Linked DNA regions of Homo sapiens: region 1 is linked to region 2. The links are contacts of gene promoters, found by promoter capture Hi-C in human tissues and cell types (Jung and others, 2019). All regions are on one chromosome and are shown on one strand. Each heading gives the region's core, a stretch centred on a gene start or on the middle of the fragment in contact. The rest is flanking DNA. Distances are from core to core; before and after follow the strand shown.

Evidence for each region. Contacts are between HindIII fragments. The study calls those that stand out against the background at their distance.
Region 1: a fragment that was not itself captured here is called in contact with the fragment with the promoter of SCN5A in region 2 in 1 of the 25 tissues and cell types used here (H1 embryonic stem cells).

Annotation. Positions count from the first base shown.
Region 1 is chr3:38,596,593-38,600,685 of GRCh38, reverse strand. SCN5A (sodium voltage-gated channel alpha subunit 5) reads left to right here. Exons shown (of 28, transcript NM_000335.5): 13 at 1,636-1,768; 14 at 2,719-2,957. Among named protein-coding and RNA genes, the nearest start is that of SCN5A, 51 kb to the left of the region's middle. The HindIII fragment of the contact is 8,541 bases long and covers 1-4,093 here.
Region 2 is chr3:38,647,644-38,651,611 of GRCh38, reverse strand. It overlaps SCN5A (sodium voltage-gated channel alpha subunit 5), which reads left to right and starts at 1,925. Exons shown (of 28, transcript NM_000335.5): 1 at 1,925-2,081. RefSeq lists a silencer at 1,807-1,966. The HindIII fragment of the contact is 3,470 bases long and covers 417-3,886 here.

The sequences.
Region 1 (4,093 bases), core at 1,137-3,636, 51 kb after region 2:
TGGGGAAGCTCTTTTCATGGAGAATTCCTGGAGCACAAGAGCAAGATAAACAGCACTAGCCCAGTTGAGGTTTCTGTTCACAGCATGTCCACTAACATTCTGTTGTCCAAAGCAAGTCATTCATGCCCAGGGCAGGGAAGTTAATTCACCCTCGGTGGGAGGGGAAAGAGAGTGCATATGTGCCAAGTGATAACCAAACTATCATAGATGGCAAAGAAGGAGGGGAGAAGTTGGGAGAATTTAAAACTTGCTTGTGAGTTAAGCTGGCCAAATTCATGGTTGCGTTGGACCTAGGGTAGTACCATTGCACCAGCCACCTCAGCCCTCTCAGGTGCCTCCACTTGAATACTTCCATGACTGGGAGCTCACTACCTCCCTAGGCAACATTTCAGAGCAGTCCTACCAATGGCCGGGATGTCCTTAACTTGAGCCCAGATCTATTTGGTATCCACCCTATGCCCTGCTTCTTCTACCCTGGCTAATCTAGGCCCATCTTCCCTCTGCCCTATGAAGATTAGAGTCTTGCTATTGCATGCTGAACAGCTCAGCACCTGGGCCGTGGTCATGCAGGGCCCTGCTGAAGTGAAGGCTTTATTGGCCCTCCTTGGTTCTGTGGGAGGCTCCAGGTAAGCCTAGAGAATGCCTGCCTGCCACCTCCCTTCACCAGGGCTGTTTCCAGGCCTGGGTTTTTTACTGATAAAAATGGTGCATGCATGGTGAAAACAAACCCCACAGTGCAGAAGTACATGAAGTGAAAAGGGAACTTCTCCCTCTTTTTCCCCTCCCCCACAATCCCATTCCCCAGATATGTCCACTTTAATTATTTGGTATGCATTTTCCAGATCTTTTTCTTGTTTTTTCATCAAACTGTTTGTCTTGGAGATGTCCGCATGGGAGCATCCAAAGAACTGCCTCGTTCTCTTTGTTGTCTATCAGAGCCCAGAGTTGGACTGTGTCTATAATTGATTTGAATATGGTTGCTATTGATTGGTGTTTTGTTCTTATGGTATTAGGAACACTGCTGCAATGAACATCATTTATGTGTATTTTTGATGCACATGTGTAATTATTTATGAAGTTAGATTACTAGACGAGGACTTGAGGGCCAATTTAAAATTTTCTTGGTAAATCCAGCCTAACTGCCTCCACAAAAGACACAGCCCCCCACCAGCCATATGTAAGCATTGTACTTTATCCTGCTATTAGCATTATCTTAGAGCATGTTAGATTTTTTTTTCAGCTTCTTTATGCTCTTGACGCTAGGAAACTTGTGGTCAGTTAAGACTCCCAGATCATTTTTGCATGTACTAATGTGTATGGCAGCATCAGGCTCAGGGAGGACCTGTGATATGTGTAGCTTCCTGACCACACTCAGGAATCACTGCTGATGAGAGGCAGTGAAGAAGAAAGGAGAATGAAGGAGACAGTGATTGGGAGGAGGGGTGGAGGGAGTTCTTAACTGGGAGGGAGTTGGGAACAGAGAAGCCCAGCATCCAGTGTCCCATCAAGACCTTCATCCTATCCCTGTGGCATCCCCAGCCTGAGTCTGGACCGGCCTCCCCAGGTCCAGCAGGACAGGAGCTGGGGGCAGGACCCTTTTCCCCAGGCTGACGCAAATCTCCTGATTGCACTCAGACCACGCCATCGGAGGAGCCAGGCGGGCCCCAGATGCTGACCTCCCAGGCTCCGTGTGTAGATGGCTTCGAGGAGCCAGGAGCACGGCAGCGGGCCCTCAGCGCAGTCAGCGTCCTCACCAGCGCACTGGAAGGTCAGCAACCCCAGGTCATTTAAGCACCCCCCACTTCCGCTGCAGGTACCCTCATCTTTATCCCAGCCTGACCCAGGCATCCCCCATTTGTCTTGGCCTGCTTTAGACATCCCCACACTGTCCCAGCCTTCTCTGTTCTGTGTAGCCTTGCCTGTCCTTCCATGTCTTTTCATCTGTTTCAGCTTGTTCTCTCCTGGGTATCACCATGCCTGTGTTTCTCCCAAATACTCCCACATCTGGCCTGTCCCAGATGCTTGTCAGTCTCATTCCATCATCTCCCAACCATAACCATGTCTATCTAGGACCATCCTGTCCTGAGCATACCCATGCCTGTTCTAGCTATTCCCATATCTACTTCAGACTATTCCAGGCATCCTACATCTTTCCCAGCCATTCCTGCCCTAGGCAACTCCACATCCCTTCCAGTCTGAATGGGGCACCCCCCATCCTGATCTTGTTCCCTCCTATCTCGGATGTATTCTCATCTTTTCCAGCCTGTCCTTGGCATCCCCTCTCCCATTTGTCCTGACACATCCCAGATGTCCACATCTGTCCCTGCCCATTCTGTCCCAGGTGTCCTCGTGTCTGAACTTGCATGTCCCCATTACTGTCTCATCATTTTCAGCCTGTCCTCCCCTGAGTGTCCCCAGGTCTATGTGGGACTGTTGTCTTAAGCAGTTGTACGTTTGTCCTGATAATCTCTCCTGTCCCCATTTTCCCCACCTCCATCTTTGTTTCCTGTCCCTATGGACCTCTTCTCTCATATTTCCAGATTAAGGAGCCAGGACACAGGCCACCCACTCCCTTGGCCTTCCCTGCTCCCACTGTCCCGCTGTCACCTAGCAGCCCTGTCATCTCCCAGAGCAAGTCATAAATCTTTCCTGGAAGGTATTCCAGTTACATATGACTCAGTCAACAGAATCAAACTAACTCATTGGCTGTCCCCTCAGAGTTAGAGGAGTCTCGCCACAAGTGTCCACCATGCTGGAACCGTCTCGCCCAGCGCTACCTGATCTGGGAGTGCTGCCCGCTGTGGATGTCCATCAAGCAGGGAGTGAAGTTGGTGGTCATGGACCCGTTTACTGACCTCACCATCACTATGTGCATCGTACTCAACACACTCTTCATGGCGCTGGAGCACTACAACATGACAAGTGAATTCGAGGAGATGCTGCAGGTCGGAAACCTGGTAAGGGCTGCCTGCAGCTGGCTCTCAAATGGGCATCCTGGCAGGAGGGGACCTCGGGCAGCTGGCACAGCCTTCATGGGTAAGGAAGAAGGGATCCTGCACACAGAAGGATCTTTTGAGGGTGGGAATCATCATAGAGGACATCTTGGAGGAGGGAGGGAATCTCAGGGTCGGCTTCTAAGGAGCTGAGAAATGTAGATTTGGAGTGGGAGGGTGGAGTGAAAAGAAGTTTATGCAGATGCCCAGAATCTAGAAAACAAAAGTGAGCTGGGGGTAAACCTGAAATGTGTGGAGACTTGAGATTTTGTAATTTGTAGGTGGAGGAGAATGCGTGCAGAAGGAAGTAGTTCTCTTATGGACGGAGCTTGCATCAGTGTTGTTGGATGGGGGAAATTGTGGATGGATGGTTGGATAGAAGGAGGGAAGGATGGAGGGATGGATGGATGGATGGATGGATGGATGGATGGATGGACAGATGGATGGATAGCTGGGTGTAGTAAGTAAATCAGGCAGAGCCAGATTTGAATTCTGACTCAGCTCTTACTAACTAGCTGATCTCAAGCAGTTTACTCAGTAATTGGCCCAATAAATATTTGTTGAATTCAATAAATGTGAAATTAGTATGACAATATCAACCTCATAGGAAGGTAATGAGGACTGTATAAGATAATGTGTATAATATGCTTGGCTCATAGATTGATAAACAGTAAGCACTCAAAACAAATGATAGCTGTGCTATTGTTGTTGTTGTTAGACTGCTCCTGGAAGTCAGAATGTCTGGATTCTAATTCTGATTTTTTTTTTCTTGATACCAAATCAAGTCCTGCCTCTTTATTATACAGATAGGGAAACTGAGGCCCAGAGACAGGAGGGATGACATGGCAGGGGCAGAGTTGGTCATCTCTCAACTCCCAGGACAGGGCCATATTGGATCAGTCGAGGTAAACAGAGTCAGCCCATCTTTAGAGGATCCCAGGGCAGAGTTGCCATGATCCCACTGGCCTTAAAAAGGAGCTTGTGAGATCATCATCGAGGCTGGTGTGGGGGTGGTAGGGGGACTTCTGGCCCCATTTGATCTAAGCTTGTTCTTACTGAAGACCCAGCCTGTCTCAGGCCCAGCTGTTCAAGTGACCCCC
Region 2 (3,968 bases), core at 676-3,175:
CTCCCAGCAGCTTCTATCCTAGCCTTGTCTCCTGCTTGACCCAATGTCAGTTTGCAAGTAGAAGCTTCATTCTGAGGCCGAGAAGCCCGTGATGGAAGTTCTTAGGGGAGGTAGGACCTTCCTGCTACTGTACTCTCCTGCCTGGTAGGTGTGACTCTGGGAAGGCGGCTGCACGTGGGTTGAAACGTTGACACTGCCTGCACTTCCCCTTCTGGCCGATAGTGGGAGCTGCTAGCCAACCTGAGGCTCGTCAGGCGCTAAAGGCTGGCAGCCGACCTGTGTGGTCCATCCGTCTGTACCCCAGACACCCCACTCAACTCGGGGCCGGAGAGGCCCATGTCCTGAACTTTCCTGTGGACTGACTTTCCTACTGATCCCCTCCTGCAAGCAGAGCAGCCCCTCCGTATGTACCTAAGGCGTCCAACGAAGCCCCACACCCAGGTCGCAAACGGACGCTGTCCCCCACCCCCCTCTTTGCCCTCCCACCTCTTCAAGATCCCCATCATGGAGGAGCAGGTCCCAGCCTCTGGGCTCCCAAACCCAGCACCTCTGTGCCCTCTGAGACCCTGGCACCCATTTGGCTCTCTAAGAGCGGTTCTTGCTTTTGGGAGCCCTGAAAATGTGGCAGAAAAGTGTACCATCCCTTCCAATGACTGTACTTTTTTCGTGGGCAAAAGCTGATGGCCTGTTTTTTGTTGTTGTTTTGTTTTGTTTTTGTTTTTGTTTTTAGAAGCGCAAGATTTATTGTGAAGAGGGAAAGAACAAAGCTTCCACAGCGTGGAAGGGGACCCAAGCGGGTTGCCCTGATGGCCTGTTTTGTTTAAACAAGAAGTGTGTCCCCATAGGTCCTGGGCATGGGCATGGGAGCAACTGTTTGTCAGCGTATGTCTCCGTGTGTGTGTGCCTGTGACCATGTCTCTGAGTGAGAAACAGTGGGTGTGTAAGTATGTGACTCCAGGCTCTGCATGTGTCAAGGTGAAGGTTGTATGTGGCTCAAGAGGGTGGAAGTATATATATAAAGAGGTATATACATGTATATATATGTATGTGTGTGTGTGTGTTTGCGCGCGCGCGTGTGTGGGTGTCTCTGTGTTGGTTGCCTGCTTGCTTCTGGGTCTGGGTGTGTGTTTGGTTCTGTCAGCATGTGCGTCCGTGTGTTCAGGTAGATGTGTACCATTGTGCAGATTTCTGTGGCATCACTAAGTGTGTCTCCAGGAAAGTGTGGTTCGAGTGAGTGTGTGTGTCTCTGTGTCAGTGTGTCAGTGGATGTGTGTCTAAGTCATGTGGGTGTCTAAGTTTGTCAGAGTGTCTTCCTCAGTGTCAGTGTGTGTCAATGATGTGTCTGTCTGTGTCTGTGTGGGTGTGTGGGGGTGTGTATCTGTCTCAGGGTGCATGTGTGTGTCTGTGTCAGTGCAGGTATGCCTATGGCAGCGTGTGTCTGTCTCGGCATGAGTGTCAGTGTATGCCCGTGTCCACGTGGGTGGGTGGGTGTCTGGTAGCCTTCCCAAGTCAGCAAGGTTGCGTGTGTGTGTGTGTATACTCTGGCGGGTGCTGGTGTGTATGCCAGTGTTTGTTAATGTGAGCCTGTCCGCGTCCGCGTGGGTGGCCATCTGTGGTGAAGCGTCGCCGGGTCGCCGTGTGTGTACCCCCGCCTATGTCTGTCTGTCCGCGGCCGCGTGTGCGGCTGTCTGTGGCTGTGAGCCCCCGGGTCAGTGTGGGAGTGTGCGCCCCGGCGGGCGCTGGTGTGTCCCCCCTCCGAGCGGGCGGAGCACCACGTGCGGAGCCCTGGGCGCGTCGCTCTGGGGCGGAGCCAGCCCGGGGCCCCAAGCCCCAGGCCGAACCCAGGCGGGGCCCGCCCCGACCCCGCCCCCGACCCCGCCCCCAGCCCGAGCCCGCGCCGCCTGCCCAGCCCGGGAGCCCGAACAGAGCCGCGGAGCCGAGACGGCGGCGGCGCCCGTAGGATGCAGGGATCGCTCCCCCGGGGCCGCTGAGCCTGCGCCCAGTGCCCCGAGCCCCGCGCCGAGCCGAGTCCGCGCCAAGCAGCAGCCGCCCACCCCGGGGCCCGGCCGGGGGACCAGCAGGTGAGCGAGTGCCCCCGCGCCCGGCAGCCCTGGCCCGGCCGGAGCCCCCTCCGCCTGCCGCCGCCCAACTTTCCTCCCCGAGGGCCGAAGCCTCCAGTCCCTGCGTGCTCCTCCCTGCCCCGGGTCCGCCCAGCCGCTCCCTCCCCGATCAGTGCCCCAGAGAGCCGGAGGGGGAGAAGGGGCGCAGATCCGCCCGGCTGGAGGGTATCCCCGGGGGAGACGTCTCTAAACACCGTGCGCCCCCCTTCCCTTCCCTTTCCTTCCGGGTTTCCCGGTGCGCTGTCGAGGGCCGGGGGAGGGGGAGCTGCGGCCCCAGCTTCCCGGCCATCCCTGGCGCAGGCTCGGGGAGGGTCTGGGATTGGGACCCGGATACCGGAGGCCGGAGACCCCAAGGTCAGAGCGGCGACTAGGCGCGCCATGAATGTGGTTCCAGAGAGCGGGGTTTGCGGGGGCTGACCGAGCAGGGCTGGATATGGGGGAGGAAGCCACGCACCCCCTTTCTCTGGGCCCAGGGGGAACCGTCCGCTGGGGCTGTCCTCTCTGTGGGACGAGATCTCTGCGCGTTTAGACCATGTAGAGATCTCGGTGCCCTTTGACGCCCTAAAGGGGCCGCATCTCCTCTGTCTGATCTCTGTGCTTCTCGAAGGGGTGGAGATCTCTTTGCGGTGAGATTGGAGAGAGTTCTCTGCCCTCCTCTCTCTGAGCCGGAACAGATCCACGCACCCTGATGGGAGGTGGCTCTCGACCTCTGTGTTATTTGATCGTCTTTGGTGGCGCTCTGGAAGAAAGTGGAGGTGCCAAGCTTTGTCCGAGAGGCCAAGAGCTGGTGGGGGCCAGAGGTGTGGGGACTGTTAGTGGTGGTGATGAGGATGGGGGGAAATGATGTTGGGGACAAGTCCCTGGCTGTAGGCCTGCCTTGCAAACACCTGTTGGAGAGCAGAGCACAGCCAGATCAGGATGCCATGGCTAAGATAGTGCAGGACTCACTCTTGTGCTCCTCAGTGCCTTCAGCCCAGCCCCGGGCCATGGGATCTATCTCCTCTTAAGGTCCTGGGCCTATGTTCCATTCCCAGGCATCTGCTCGCCTCCTGCTGAGACCCCAGGTGTGTCTCCCAGTGAGCCTAGGCAGTATCATCCAGATGGCAAACCACGTGACCCCCACCATGCCATGGCATCCCAAGCCCTCTCCCAGGTTCCCACCATCCTTCAGGATCTAGTGGGACCGTGAGCAGCAGAGGCCCCAGCTACTGGGGGCCCAGGCCATTGCCGCTGCCCTCAACTCCATCTGTTTGACCTCATCTCCACTCAGTTAGAATTGGGCAGGTGCATATGAATCGGTGGTAATGAGTGCGAGGTGGAATGAGGGTGGTCAGGCTGCTGTTGCAGGAGCATGGAGAGGGTGAGGTCAGGTGACAGCCAGGGTGTGGAACACAGATTCTATGTTACAGTGTCCAGCTCTGTGCTGAAAAGAGCCTCATTAAACTTTTAATCATGTCATCACTACCATATCATACAAGTGGGGAAACTGAGGCCCAGAGGAGCTCAAGGACTTATTCAATGTCATCTAGAGAATCAGTGGATTGGGGGCACCACGCAATGTGAAGACACCTTGAGATCTACTTTCTGTGGGGCAAATAAGCCTAGAACTGAGCCAGGAGGATCTGAGCAGAAGGGGAACTGGCCCTGGGGTGCCAAGAGCCAGCATTCAGCCCAATGTGGCAAGGGCAGCTGCTGTGCTCCAAGGTGCTCGGCTCCCTCTCTGTGTGTTGATCAAAGCTCCTCTGGAAAAATTCTAGTATTGACTCACTCAGCATGAAGATTGGGCTTGGAGGACTAGTGGGAAGCACCAGAGACAGCTGGGGATGGGAGAAGAGCGGAGGCTGGTGC